Regions from separate parts of the Homo sapiens genome. Here regions 2 and 3 are each linked to region 1. The links are contacts of gene promoters, found by promoter capture Hi-C in blood cells and fetal thymus (Javierre and others, 2016). All regions are on one chromosome and are shown on one strand. Each heading gives the region's core, a stretch centred on a gene start or on the middle of the fragment in contact. The rest is flanking DNA. Distances are from core to core; before and after follow the strand shown. Region 1 holds the start of ZNF641 (zinc finger protein 641). Region 2 holds the start of LALBA (lactalbumin alpha). Region 3 holds the start of SENP1 (SUMO specific peptidase 1).

Region 1 (4,395 bases), core at 1,555-4,054:
AAGAATGAGATTTAGTCATTTGCAACAACATGGATGGAACTGGAAGTCATTATGTTAAGCGAAATAAGCCAGACACAGAAAGACAAACATCACATGTTCTCACTTATTTGGAGGATCTAAAAATCAAAACAATTCAACCCATGGAGATAGAGAGTAGAAGGATGGTTACCAGAGGCTGGGAAGGGTAATGGGGGAATGGGGACAGTGAGGATGGTTAATGGGTACAAAAAATAGTTTGAATGCATGAATAAGACCTAGTATTTAATAGAACAACCTAGTATTTAATAGACCTAGTATTTAATAGTTATTATAGTCAATAATAACTGTACATTTTAAAGTAACTAAAAGGGTATAATTGGATTGTTTGTAACACAAAGGATAAATGCTTGAGGGGATGGATACCTGATTCCCATGATGTGATTATCATGCATTGCATACCTGCATCAAAATATCTCATGTACCCCATAAAGATATTCACCTATTATGTAACTACACAAATTTAAAATTATAAAAGTTATTTTTAAAAAGAAAAGGTTCTGGTATAAAGAAGATGATACCATTCAGCCTCTTTTTTTTTTTTTTTTTTTGAGACGAAGTCTCATTCTGTTGCCCAAGCTGGAGTATTAGTGGCACGATCTCTGCTCACTGCAACTTCCACCTCCTGGTTTCAAGCGATTCTCCTGCCTCAGCCTCCCAAGTAGCTGGGACTACAGGCACGCACCACCATGCCCAGCTAGAGACAGGGTTTCACTATGTTGGCCAGGCTGGTTTTGAACTCCTGACCTTGTGATCCGCCCGCCTCTACCTCCCAAAGTGCTGGGATTACAGGCATGAGACACTGCACCTGGCTTTTTTTATTTTTTGGAAACAATCTCACACTGATTTGTTTCCCAAAACAGTCGAGGAGAGTTTGGGCTATTATAATATCTATCAGTTCTTTCCAAACATTCTTTTCAGGTAAAGTCAGGTTTACGTACTTGGTTATGTTCAATTTAACTCTGTGTGACGAGGCAATGCTGTGTCCAGCAGCGCCCATTTCCTTTTCCATGAGGCACACATTCTTTACTTCCCAGCCACCCTTCTGGGTAGGGCCATGTGACCATGCGCATGAGTTCTGGCTAAGGGAATGGGGTGAAAATGATACACACCACTTCCAGGACTGGCCCCTAATATCTCTGACAAGTTAACCACGGCCAGCCTCCCTTATCTGAGGGCCACAGATTTGACTACATTACCAAGGCCTCGGCATGGGAGAACCACCAAATGCAAGAAGCCTGGTCCTTCAATGAATTCAAGAAGTACAGACCCCACCCTCTGGCCCCAACCAACTTGTTACCACACTGTGACTTGTATGAACATAAGCCTTTATGGAGTTAAGCCCCGAGATACTGGTTTTGCTAGCCTACTCCAATTAACGCACCTTATATTTACCACCAGTGGTAGCATAAGTGAAAAGAACCCCTGGACTTAGTTCCAGGACCCGGGATAAAAATTCTGGCTCTACTACTACCCCGACATATCCCATGATCTGCTCCTAGAATATGCTCTATACTCTTCCCAACTGCGTGTCTACTGCATTTTCCTCTTTCATTAGACAGCCCTCCTGACTCTTCTCTGCCTCACGATTTCTGTCAGAGTGGGGGGCCTTCTCTGACCTCCGTCCCATACGTGGTCACTTCTCTTTGCTTCAAGTGCAGCGTACGTTCCTCTGTTTTAGAATCTACGTTTTTATTGCAAATATTTGTTGACATGTGCTTCCCCAGACTGTGAATCCTTTAACTCCCAGCATTTAGTTACAGTGTCTGGCACACGTAGAAAATAAATATGCATTAAACGAATGATTGTCACATATGACCTTAAGTGAGTCAATTATTTTTTAAGTCTACTAAATAAAATTTTTGAAAATTGTTGTAATGATGAAATAAGGAATGTGAATGTGACTTGTAGGTTATAAACAGATTCTAACAGCAATGGGTTTACTCACTGTTTGTAGGCCCTTCTCATCTTTTCTAGTCAAATCCATCTTAATGCTGCAAGGTAGCACTATCCAATAGAAATATAATGCAAGCCATATTTATAGCCACATTTAAAAAGTTAAAACCAGGTGAAATTAATTTTAATATATTTAACCCAATATACCCAAAATATCACTTTTTAAATTAAATCTTCTAAATCTTGGAACACATCTCTATTCAGACCAGCCACATTTCGAGAGCTCAGGTGTCACCTGCGGCTACGGCTCCCGCAAATGGGACAGCAGCCGCAAGGCCAACTTCAGATAGCAACCTGACTTCCCCTCAGGCAGAATAAGTGACTCCTCCTCAGTGCTCTCTCAAGCCCTTTATCCTATCGTGAAAACTAGAGGGTACGCTCCTTGAGGAATTCCAGACTGTTGTCTGGAGAAATCGCTCTCGGCCTCGGTCTGGCCTGTAACGGGCGGTTACGCAATTCCAGGTAATTGACGAACCCTGAGGACAGAACTCCGTGGGAGGCCCAGTAGCCAGAGCGGAAAATGGTCAGTCAGGCAAGAGTGCGGGCAAGTGGCCACAGCAGGCTGCGATTCCGGCGCCCGCCGCCCTCCAAGCGTCTCGGGCCGCACCCTCCCCACAGCGGCGGGCGCGGAGGTCCCGGGTTCGCGTTTGGGGGCGCCTGAGCCGCAGCCCCGCCCCCTCCCGTCCCTCCCTCCCTCCCTCCCTCCCACTCCTCTCCCTCCCACTCCTCTCCCTCCCACTCCCCGCACCTCCGCCGCCGCAGAGCCCCGGAAGCGGGCGGGGATTTCCTGTGCCCGCCCCGCCCCGCCCGCGCCTGCCGGGCCGCCGTCTCCGCCTGTCGCTGGCTCCGCCGGCCGCCGGCTCCCAGACGCAAGCGGAGGGCGGAGGGGAGGGGCAGGCGGCGCCCGGGAGGGAGGCACCGGGCCGCGGGCCAAGCCTACCGGGGGTGAGTGGAGCCGGGCCGGAGGGAGCTGCGGCTGGAGGGAGGGACGCCTGGCTTCCCGGGGCGGCTGGTGGGGGCTCGGTCACCCATAGGGGCTGGGAGGAGGATCGGCGCGTCTTCCGGGTTGCTGCCTTTCCCGGGGGTCTGCCCCGCTGACATTCTGTGCCCGCCTCTCGCCCTGTCTCCCCGTGCCCATCGCAACTGTCAGGCCCTGCGGGCTCCCGCCGCTGTCACTCGCGCACAGGTTACCCCGTGGCTCCCTTTCTCTTCACTTGCTCATGCCCCAGCTCATGGGAAACCTGTTTTCTGACCTCACTTCCCCTGCTCCAGTTCTGCCTTGCTCGGATTCTCTGAAATCTGACCCTTTCCAGGGGCACTGTGACAAGAAGAAGGGAAGAAGCAACCTTACCCCTGAGCAGGCTCCCGTCCCGCCCATGCCCTACCCGTGGCAGGGGCCAGGGTTCTCTGATGGACGGAGCCAACTCGTCCGTGTGCCCTTGGGCTACTCATTTTTATAACATGGCCCCTTTTCTGTTCATCAGCACTGGCTGCAGAAACTTCCTTTTGCAGGTCCCTTGCTACCCATATGTGTGAAGAAAAGGGGGAAATGAAAGCCCTAGAACCCACACTGCAGTGGGCATGGGATCATCCTGGAACCAGGAGAAACGAGGTTAGGGCTACCACCTTAACCGCCCAGGTGCTGGCTCTGCGTGAATATCTTAGGAAATGCAAGCTGAGGACAGGTACCCATCCCATCCTTTGCTGAGATTTTTGCTAGCACTTCCACGGATTTCTGTCAGTGGTATAGAAAAACTTACAGCTGGCCCAATGGGCTCTGCACAAAGAGGCTTCCCATTAAGAGACTCTGCTACCTGGGGGAGATGGAGAAAGGGTTTGAGACAAGTGTCCAGATATGTAGCTAGAGGTAAAGCCTTCAGGGAGGATTTGCACAGGAGCTAGAGAACCAGAAAGATGGGACGAAGAGGGAGAATTAGTGCCCTGTGTGTTAAAAGTGGATACAGAGCTGGAATTCAGAGAAGAGAGCTAAAATGGAAGTTTCCCTTTATTGCTTTAGCAAGAATTTTCCTTTCTCATGAAAAGTCTCTGAAAAGGAAACCTCCTAGGCTGGGAATCAGTCCAGGGTGCTCCCATGAGGCCCTGAGCCATCTTTGGACTTCTGAGATAAAAAGGGAATTTGTTTTTCCTGTGCATTGGGCTTAGGGTTCCCACCTACCTCTTTTGTCAAAGACAAATAGGCAAGAAAATAGACGACTTGACATCTGTGATTACCTACCCTGGCCTTCAAGGTTCTTGCAAGTGTTATTGAAAGGATGTAAGTAAGCCAGGATAGTTACCAAGTTTCTGACTGCTCTTGGAAGCCTTTCACTGACTCTGACTGTTTGGATATTGAATAAGAATACCCAAAATATGTTGCCAAACAGAAAGAGATTCTGAGTCTCA
Region 2 (4,753 bases), core at 1,097-3,596, 220 kb before region 1:
TTTATAGGGAAATAATGGTTCCTTTTGCCGGAGACATGTTTATTTTCTTTTCTGCACTTAGTTGTGATTCCTGACCTGTATGCTTATTTTTATTGCTTATAGGGAAGGGCCAAGGTATAATCAAATGATAGGCAAGCAGGCAGCTGCCTTAGGTCTTGACTTGGCTGAAAGTGTAGAAAACCCCTGTGATTCTTGAGACCCTGGCCCACCCTTTTACTCTATCACAGGTACTTAGTCAATAGCCTAGGGCAGGAGGCATTTTACACAAGACTCCACTATTGGAAGGACTAGTCCTCAGGACTAGCTTTTCTTATCTTTCCCTCTCACACATGGTTCAAGGTCACTCTCAGCCATATTCTCAACAAAGCTTAGAGTGATAGAATTCCCATTCCTGTCGTGTACCCTTGCAGTGCCTCTGGGTGGAATGCGGAGAAATGGAGTGGCTCCACTTCTGTTGTGTTTCTGAACATGTATCTCTTGCTATCAGAACTTTCTGCTCATCCCTTCTGGCACACCAAGATCCTCCACATTCCCTTCACTCATGCCACTTCATATACTGGTTATCCATGGTACAGAAGACAGGATTTAACTGAGAGGACTTTTCCCTGACTCTGAATACATGTAGGAGATAACGATATGGAAGACCTTCAGTATGTAAGTCTTAAATAGATTGGTTGGGATAAATGTTCCCTGAAACATAAGAAACAGCGCAGCGGCTCCTGTCTGTAATCCTAGCACTTTGGGAGGCCGAGGCCCAGGCAGGCAAATTGCCTGAGCTCAGAAGTTTGAGACCAGCCTGGCCAACATGCAGAAACTCCGTCTCTACTAAAAATACATAAATTAACCGGGCATGGTAACACGTGCCTGTAGTCCCAGCTACTCGGGAGGCTGAGGCAGGAGAATCACTTGAGCCTGGGAGGCAGAGGTTGCAGTGAGCCAAGATCGCGCCACTGCATTCCAGCCTGGGCAACAGAGTGAGACTTGGTCAAAAAAAAAAAAAAAAAAGGAAGAAGAAGAAGAAATCAGGTTTAGAGATGAGGACAAAGAAGACGAATGGTGGCATGAAGGAGCTAAGAGCTACTTGTCACCATGACATGAAGCTTCATGCCAGCAAATTAAAGGAGCTATTCAGAACTAGTATCCTCAACTCTACTTGCTCAGGGGCACTGACCTTATAGAGATTCCAGACATAAGCTTGTTCAGCCTTAAAGTCCAATCTTTCCACTGGCTTGGGTCCTTCCCACTTTCTGTGGCCAACTCTGAGGTTGTCTACAAGTTATTGGTCTTAGATTTATGTAATGTCTCAATGCCAGTGTAGTATTTGGTTATTTACGGTAGGAGTGGTTAGGGGTGGGGAATCTGATAATAGCTCGTAGGATAGCTAGATTCTTTTTTTTTTTTTTTTTTTTTAAAGATAGGGTCTCACTTTGTCTCCCAGGATGGATGGAGTGCAGTGGAGTGAACATGGCTCACTGCAGCCTCGACCTCCTGTGCTCAAGTGTTCCTCCTGCCTCAGCCCCTCAAGTAGCTGGGACTACAGGCACATGTCACCATGCCCAGCTAATTTTTTTTGTAGAGATGGGATTTTACCATGTTGCCCAGGCTGGTCTCGAGCTCCTGGGCTCAAGTGATCCACCAGACTCGGCCTCCCAAAATGCCGGGATTACAGGTGTGAGCCACTGTGCCTGGCCTAGATGCTTTCATACAGGCTTTTCAATTATGCATTTTCCTTAAGTAGGAAGTCTTAAGATCCAAGTTATATCGGATTGTTGTAGTCTACGTTCCCATATTCTATTCCTATTTCTGAGCCTTCAGTCATGAGCTACCATATTAAAGAACTAATTCTGGGCCTTGTTACATGGCTGGATTGGTTGGACAAGTGCCAGCTCTGATCCTGGGACTGTGGCATGTGATGACATACACCCCCTCTCCACATTCTGCATGTCTCTAGGGGGGAAGGGGGAAGCTCGGTATAGAACTTTATTGTATTTTCTGATTGCCTCACTTCTTATATTGCCCCCATGCCCTTCTTTGTTCCTCAAGTAACCAGAGACAGTGCTTCCCAGAACCAACCCTACAAGAAACAAAGGGCTAAACAAAGCCAAATGGGAAGCAGGATCATGGTTTGAACTCTTTCTGGCCAGAGAACAATACCTGCTATGGACTAGATACTGGGAGAGGGAAAGGAAAAGTAGGGTGAATTATGGAAGGAAGCTGGCAGGCTCAGCGTTTCTGTCTTGGCATGACCAGTCTCTCTTCATTCTCTTCCTAGATGTAGGGCTTGGTACCAGAGCCCCTGAGGCTTTCTGCATGAATATAAATAAATGAAACTGAGTGATGCTTCCATTTCAGGTTCTTGGGGGTAGCCAAAATGAGGTTCTTTGTCCCTCTGTTCCTGGTGGGCATCCTGTTCCCTGCCATCCTGGCCAAGCAATTCACAAAATGTGAGCTGTCCCAGCTGCTGAAAGACATAGATGGTTATGGAGGCATCGCTTTGCCTGAATGTGAGTTCCCTGCCTCTGTGTTTCATCCATTCCTCATACGCTTCTCTCCTCCATCCCCTCTTTCTTCCACTTCGCCCCTCCACTTTTACTTAATTATCTAATCATCCTCTTTTCTGCTCATTTGCATACTCTTTTATTTCATGTATGTATATATGTATGTATTTATTTATTTTTGAGGTGGAGTTTCGCTCTTGTTGCCCAGACTGGAGTGCAATGGTGTAATCTCGGCTCACTGCAACCTCCGCCTCCTCGGTTCAAGTGATTCTCCTGCCTCAGCCTCCCAAGTAGCTGGAATTACAGGCACCCACCACCATGCCTGGCTAATTTTGTATTTTTTGTAGAGACAGGGTTTCACCATGTTGGCCAGGCTGGTCTCAAACTTCTGACCTCAGGTGATCCGCCCTCCTCAGCCTCCCAAAGTGTTGGGATTACAAGCGTGAGCCATCATGCCTGGCCCCATTTATTTTCCTATCCTTTCTTTCTCTTATTGTCTGATTTTTTTTTGGAATTCTCCATCTCATCAAGAAACTCTGAGCTTTGCCATCTTTGGAGATTGGCTGGAAAGCATTTTTGTCTGAGAATTACAGTTCCTCCTTTATGCAGATCCTGTACATCTCTGTGGTATCTCTTTCTCATCTTTCCCTCAGTGATCTGTACCATGTTTCACACCAGTGGTTATGACACACAAGCCATAGTTGAAAACAATGAAAGCACGGAATATGGACTCTTCCAGATCAGTAATAAGCTTTGGTGCAAGAGCAGCCAGGTCCCTCAGTCAAGGAACATCTGTGACATCTCCTGTGACAGTGAGTAGCCCCTATAACCCTCTTTCTCTGTTTTTCTGAGGCCTGCCCTTGGGATAATCTCCTTTTTAGTGCCAAGCAGACCTCAGGCTTCATTGCCTTGGCTGGGCTCTATAAAAATTGTGGGACTTGAATTGGCAGTACTGAGTAAGAAGCTGTTTGGATTTTTCATGGTCATCAAATCCCCAGACAGTTCCTTGAGGTTCAGTGGTAGACAATCGGAGCTGTCTGAGAGTCTTGGAATCTGATTGTCTGCATTTTCAGGGTAAGTCAGTTGATGAAGCTGATGATTCCTCCAGAGATATCCCAGGGAAATGAAGGAAGTCCCTACCCAGGGTTAGACATTACCACATTGGTCCTTTCATATAGAAAGACAACAGGCACAAGCCTTGAGTTTAGAGAACCCACTGGATCCAGGGGTTAGGGGAACTCAGTGCCTTTCTGGGTAATACTTGTCAGCTGTCTCAATCCTTTCCCTGTAACTCCTGCCAGAGTTCCTGGATGATGACATTACTGATGACATAATGTGTGCCAAGAAGATCCTGGATATTAAAGGAATTGACTACTGGTGAATCCTTATTCTATTTTCTATTTCCCCATCCTCCTTCTCCTTACCCCATTAGCCCAGCACCCCTTTCCTCTTACCCTATCTCTTGGTCATTTAATCTAGAATACAGTGTCTGAAACAAAGCTTACCTAGAGACTCAGGTTTCTGTTATTAAGCCTCTCTCGCTCCGCTCCTTGGTAGCAATTTTCCTAATAAGGGGTTGCCTAATGGAGGGCTCAGACCCAGGCCTCCTTTCACTTAGACTTGGACATCTAATTCCACTTGTTTAGTTCTATGCCCTAAAGCAAGCTGTTGGTAACATTGCATCTCTTTTTTAACCCTACAATTTTCTTGGATATTTTTTATGGACTGTATTCCACTTGATGGCTTGTGTCGCTTGACATCAGGCCAGGAATGTCTTTCTGTAATTCTCGTCCACGCTCTTCCACTTCAGCCCTCCTGGGAATGAATGTAAAGATTCAGTCAGCTAACTCACCTTGTCCCCCTTCTCCATTATCAGGTTGGCCCATAAAGCCCTCTGCACTGAGAAGCTGGAACAGTGGCTTTGTGAGAAGTTGTGAGTGTCTGCTGTCCTTGGCACCCCTGCCCACTCCACACTCCTGGAATACCTCTTCCCTAATGCCACCTCAGTTTGTTTCTTTCTGTTCCCCCAAAGCTTATCTGTCTCTGAGCCTTGGGCCCTGTAGTGACATCACCGAATTCTTGAAGACTATTTTCCAGGGATGCCTGAGTGGTGCACTGAGCTCTAGACCCTTACTCAGTGCCTTCGATGGCACTTTCACTACAGCACAGATTTCACCTCTGTCTTGAATAAAGGTCCCACTTTGAAGTCACTGGCTGTAATTTTTTTCCCCCTGGAGGGAAGGGGAAGAAATAGG
Region 3 (4,823 bases), core at 1,708-4,207, 240 kb after region 1:
TAGTGAGTGCTCAAAAATATGGCTAAATACTGATATATATTTCATAAGTGCTAGGAGTTGTTACTTTAATGAAATTATCAACTTTCTGAGGAAAACCTTTTAGTCCTGAGTTCCTTCTGAAAATATAAGAGAGTTGGGGTAAATAATCGCTAAGGCATTTCCAAAGTGTAAGCTATTGGGGCAATGGCAAGGATATGCCTTATACATATGTTTTATAATCTATCATTTCCAGTATATTATTGGGCAAATAGCGGGAACTCAATAAAGGTTTCCAGTGAATTGACTCCAATATAGATGTATTTAAGTTAAGACGAAATACATAGATGTGTTTCTGAAGCTTCATATAAATTGCCTGTGAATTGAACATTTAAAAATACATGAGAAATCTATTATTAAATGGTTTCCTAAGATGAAAATTTTTTACAATATTTAGAATCATTTTGTAAAATAATAACTCATTTAGTCAACTTTCTTAAGTTTCACATATTTATATATCAAGGATGCTGACAATAGGATAAACCAGATTAGTAGTTTACAGTTATGAGCCAATTGATTTAATATTGACCAAATTAAGTTATTCTGCATAGAGATGTGTCTGTTTCCCTACAATTTCCCAGATGATCCATCCCCACCTCTCTCCCTTCTTCCTTTCCCTCCCCATCCCTCTTTCTCTTTCTCTCTCTCTTTCTCTCTCTCTCTGTTTCACACACACACAGACTTTCCCCCTTGGGTCTTATATTTCAGCTTTAGTAGGTCTACGCTGATTTATAATACTATGCATACAACTTTCACTTTCCCATATTCCTTTGAACATTTCTCACTGTTGACCCACATGCCTCACCAGTTTTGAAAACAGGTATGCTTCCCACGGTGTCTGGATCATCCATAGTATCTAGACTCTTCAAGATGTCTGTCTTTGGTGGTGGCTTTGGTATGAGCATGCTGGAAGTAGAAGCTTCCCCAGCTGAGAAACAATAGCTTTAGGTCACCCTCAAGGTGGGATTCTGGGAAGGGAGTGTTCCTTACTCCCTTTCATTTTCCCTATGACTCTGAGCTGTCCAGGGCTTTCTTTCCAAAAATCCAGTGAAAAATTAGAGACGCGATGTACCTCAAAAAGATTCTATTCCCTTGACATACATGGGGGAAAGCAGAACATATAACTAGATACTTTGAGGTGGGGTGGATGAGAAGGCCATTTTTCCTTAGGGCTTGATTTATCTGATAGTTTTGGAGTGTCAGTTATAATGACAATAAAGATTCCCACAGATGAGCCCAGACTGGTCGAAGTAATTCACATAACAACACAATAATGACAAGCTCATGGGATAAATTTTGTTCCCCCCTCAACTCTCAAGTCCTCCTTATCTGCCTGGCATCTATCACAACAAACCAGGTCAAAATCTTACCTGGAAAATACACGACTCAGTGATCAATATTTTATCAAAGTGAGAATGTGATAAACAAGGTCAGTTGACCCCTAAAATCCGTATTTACACTAGAAAGCCTCACATCCTGTATTTAGACTTCTTGTGAGAGAACCCATTCTCTGTCACTGGAGTATGATCAGGAGACAAGGGTACCTGTTCTCTGAGGAGTCCTGACTAACTGGCGAGACTGAATCACACACATGAAAAATTTCAGATGAAACTCGTCTTTATGCATGGCTGCCTCCTAGAAATAGAGACAGAGTTTAATCCAAACGAACAGAGCTGTGAAATAAGATGTCAGTGACTGACATGGACCAGCTACACTCATGACTACTTGGCCTTAGGACTTGACAATATAATATAAAAGTATCAGCACATGAGGCAATACAAATAATCTACTTTGATGTATTTGACAGGGGAGGAAACCCTGAACTCAGCAAGCTGCTGAGAGTATCAGAAAGGCTGGGGGCCTCCAGAAACTGCCCTTCTTTAAGTCTGAGCTCAGACTGTGCCTGTGGCTGTGATCTGGGTGTAAAGGACCTATTAAGGGGGCATTTCTCTAAGACTTCTACAGGGCCTGGGTCCAGAGGCCTGCCAAGCTGAGGTGCTTGACAAAAAGCCTGAATGAACAAACATATTTCTTCCCATTATGTTCTCTTAGAAAGTATGGCAGATTCCAGGTTAATCAATGTGTCCCAGGAACAACAAAGCCCTTCAAAGGTCACAGGTGATTCCTGGGTCCTTCTCTATCTCTACCCAGAAAAGCAGATCTCTAGTGGGCTCCCAAAAGCTTTCCTCACAGCTCTGCCTGTTTCAAATTCCTCCAGAGTTCTGGAAGGTTCTACATCTTGCCAGAGTCTAGCCTAATCCGTCCTCAAGTTGCTTGTTTGTTTGTTTGTTTGCTTGCTGAATGGTCAATCAAGTATGAGGTGGTGCAGAGTACAGGATTGCAAGTTAAGAAACTTGTTTCCTAGTCCTAGATGGGCCGTGCACTTAAAACCTTTGGGAAATCACTTCACTTCTCTGAACCTGGTAAGACTAAAGTATCTCCAATAACCTCTACAAGCACTAACGTTCTGTGATTCTCAATAAAACACGAGATAGCCTGAGATCGATTTAGATCTCAGGTCCCTATCTGTCGGGGGAAGCCACAGGTTTCCGCAGATTTAGGGCCACCGCGAAAAGCTGCCATGGAAACTGGAACGCAAGCAAGCAAAACTCGCCGGGCGGAACCAGAAGGCGGCGGGTAAGGGAGCAGAGGGAACAGAGAAAAGCATAGGACGAAGGGCTCACTAACAGTATTCCGAGTACGAGAAAGCGAAAAAGCCCAGACTGAAAAGGGTACTGAGAAATTACGACTAGTCTTAAATGCTCCCTTCGCTTCTCGGGCCTCGCCACACCGCGCAGGCGCCCCACTGGTCCTTAACTCTGTTCTTTGACCTCCTGCCCCAGCCCCCTCCTCTTCAGCCACCTAGCGACTCTTCCGGTGCTGTGAAGGCGGTTCCGGTTCGCGGCGGTTCCCGGGTTTTGCGTTCCGCGCCCGGCCGGAAACCCCTTCGCATGGCAGCCGGTTCCGGTTCGGTGAGTGGCGGCGGGAAGCTGGGGGAGGGGTGAGGATGGAGGGAGCCTGGTCCAGGAGACTGTGTCGGACCCGGTCAGCCGGCCCGGGCTGGACTGGGCGGAAGCGGGGAGCACTGTGGGGCCGGCGCCTTTTCCTCTGCCCCGCCCCCTGGGACCACCTCCCCTCCCCCCTGCTGTCCGGTGGCCGCGCTGTGGCCGCCGGTGGCCGTTAGGCTACCTGAGGCCGTTCCTTCTGGTCTCTCTCTCCTGGGCCGCGGAGAGACCGTCTCCCTGCCGTTACAGCAGGCCCCATCCCAGCGCCCAGCCGTACTTGGGGAAAGGCCGGTTGCGATTCCGGGGCTTTCCCGCCAGAGCTGGGTCTTCTCTGGGGAGAGCTGTTTTCACCGGGAAGCTCGGCTTTCTGTGGTACCGGCTTCATCTCCCGCCTTCCTTGAGACCCGAGTGATATTTCTTGACTACTTCTGCGTCTCACGTAAACATTTCTCCAACTCTCCTACTCTGTGGTATCTCCCTGAGATGTGATATCGCTAGTGCCACCATCAGAAAGAAACGTCTGGACCCTCCTGCTCAGGTTATGAAAATCCCCTTAACTGCCACAATTTGCTTACCTGGCTCATCGCCTCCTGGTAATTCCCTTGAACCGTCTCTTTCTTGGTGTACCCTAACGTGATCTCTGGATCTATGCCTCGTTTCTCTTTCCTTGAGCTTGGTGATTTCTGTTTATCGGTGCCTGTGCAGTATTTCCACTATCTTGTTAGCAGTAACTTGCTTCTTTATCACTTTCAAGTCAGCCTTGTTAAAGTCATTTTACTTCATATTTGGTACACTTATTATATTTGGAGTGGTGGTGATTCTTGTAATATTCATATAAAGCCTTTTATCTACTACCAACTATTTGACTGAGGGTCTTTGTTATAATTGGTTATTCTGGATGTATTAGATCTCATCATCTCCTAAATCTTTATTCTTCATAAAAATAATTTGTGTTAAGGACTCATGTTGAAATACAGATTACCCTGACTTTGAAATTACAGTTAAAGCGCAACTTTAAGCATCTCTATAAGCATGATCCCTTAACCTACTTCCAGTTTACACTCTACCACCCTTTATTTTTCCTCTCTAGTCCCTTTTAGGAAGGCTTATTCATTTTTAACTGACTTCAATTAATTATCCCAACTGCAAAGATGGTCTTCATGTCACTCATCTAATGAGTTGTCTAGAGGGAGTGGATGGGTACAAAAACAGGTTCTGCTACTTCTGGCTAAGGGAATGCAGTTGTTGACTTGCATTGCGGCTTTGGAACTCTTGTCCTTTTCTTCCCAACTTCTACATCTTCTATCAGTTGTACCAGCTCTACTGTCTTGCGGTACCTGTTTATGGATCTGGCTTTCCCTACTGGACAGTGAGCTGCTCAGTGGCAGGGACCCTTTCTTAATGCACGTAGTCGGTGCACAGTAAATGAATGTGTATGAAAGAATTTGAACACTTAGGGTTTACGGCGTTAGAGTGTTAAGGTATTTAAGGTGTTAGAGTGATTGGGAGAGATTACATGTAAAAATAGAAGGAAAGAACCTCAAACACATGACGATATAGTACAAACTATTGTACACATAATTGTTTTTCAGAACTTGGAAAAGGGTGATTTCACATGGTTGCTTTCACACCCTTCTTATATCATAAATTGTTCTAACCACATCTTGGTCCTGGATAAAGCTAACATTGCGTCTCTCTCTCTCTCTCTCTCCCTCCCTCCGCCCCCCCCCCCCCCCCCGTCTCTCTCTCTCTCTCTCTCTATATATATTTTTTTCTTCTTTT

The links. The method cuts DNA at HindIII sites, captures the fragments that hold promoters and counts their contacts. A CHiCAGO score of 5 or more calls a contact.
Region 2: the fragment with the promoter of LALBA here is called in contact with the fragment with the promoter of ZNF641 in region 1 in 16 of 17 cell types (total CD4 T cells, activated CD4 T cells, endothelial precursors and 13 more); the score reaches 14.4 in total CD4 T cells.
Region 3: a contact is called between the fragment with the promoter of SENP1 here and the fragment with the promoter of ZNF641 in region 1, in 14 of 17 cell types (neutrophils, naive CD8 T cells, non-activated CD4 T cells and 11 more). The highest score is 14.7, in neutrophils.

Annotation. Positions count from the first base shown.
Region 1 is chr12:48,349,328-48,353,722 of GRCh38, reverse strand. ZNF641 (zinc finger protein 641) reads left to right here and starts at 2,804. Exons shown (of 6, transcript NM_001172681.2): 1 at 2,804-2,937. RefSeq lists silencers at 2,294-2,373, 2,654-3,083 and enhancers at 2,049-2,785, 3,224-3,293. The HindIII fragment of the contact is 6,093 bases long and covers 1-4,395 here.
Region 2 is chr12:48,567,639-48,572,391 of GRCh38, reverse strand. It overlaps LALBA (lactalbumin alpha), which reads left to right and starts at 2,346. Exons shown (of 4, transcript NM_002289.3): 1 at 2,346-2,504; 2 at 3,152-3,310; 3 at 3,800-3,875; 4 at 4,375-4,708. The coding sequence starts at 2,372. The coding sequence ends at 4,435. The HindIII fragment of the contact is 2,055 bases long and covers 1,197-3,251 here.
Region 3 is chr12:48,104,213-48,109,035 of GRCh38, reverse strand. SENP1 (SUMO specific peptidase 1) reads left to right here and starts at 2,957. Exons shown (of 18, transcript NM_001267594.2): 1 at 2,957-3,008. It also overlaps a transcript of PFKM not described here. RefSeq lists enhancers at 2,211-3,084, 3,370-3,579, 3,085-3,960 and a silencer at 3,090-3,229. The HindIII fragment of the contact is 3,654 bases long and covers 2,220-4,823 here.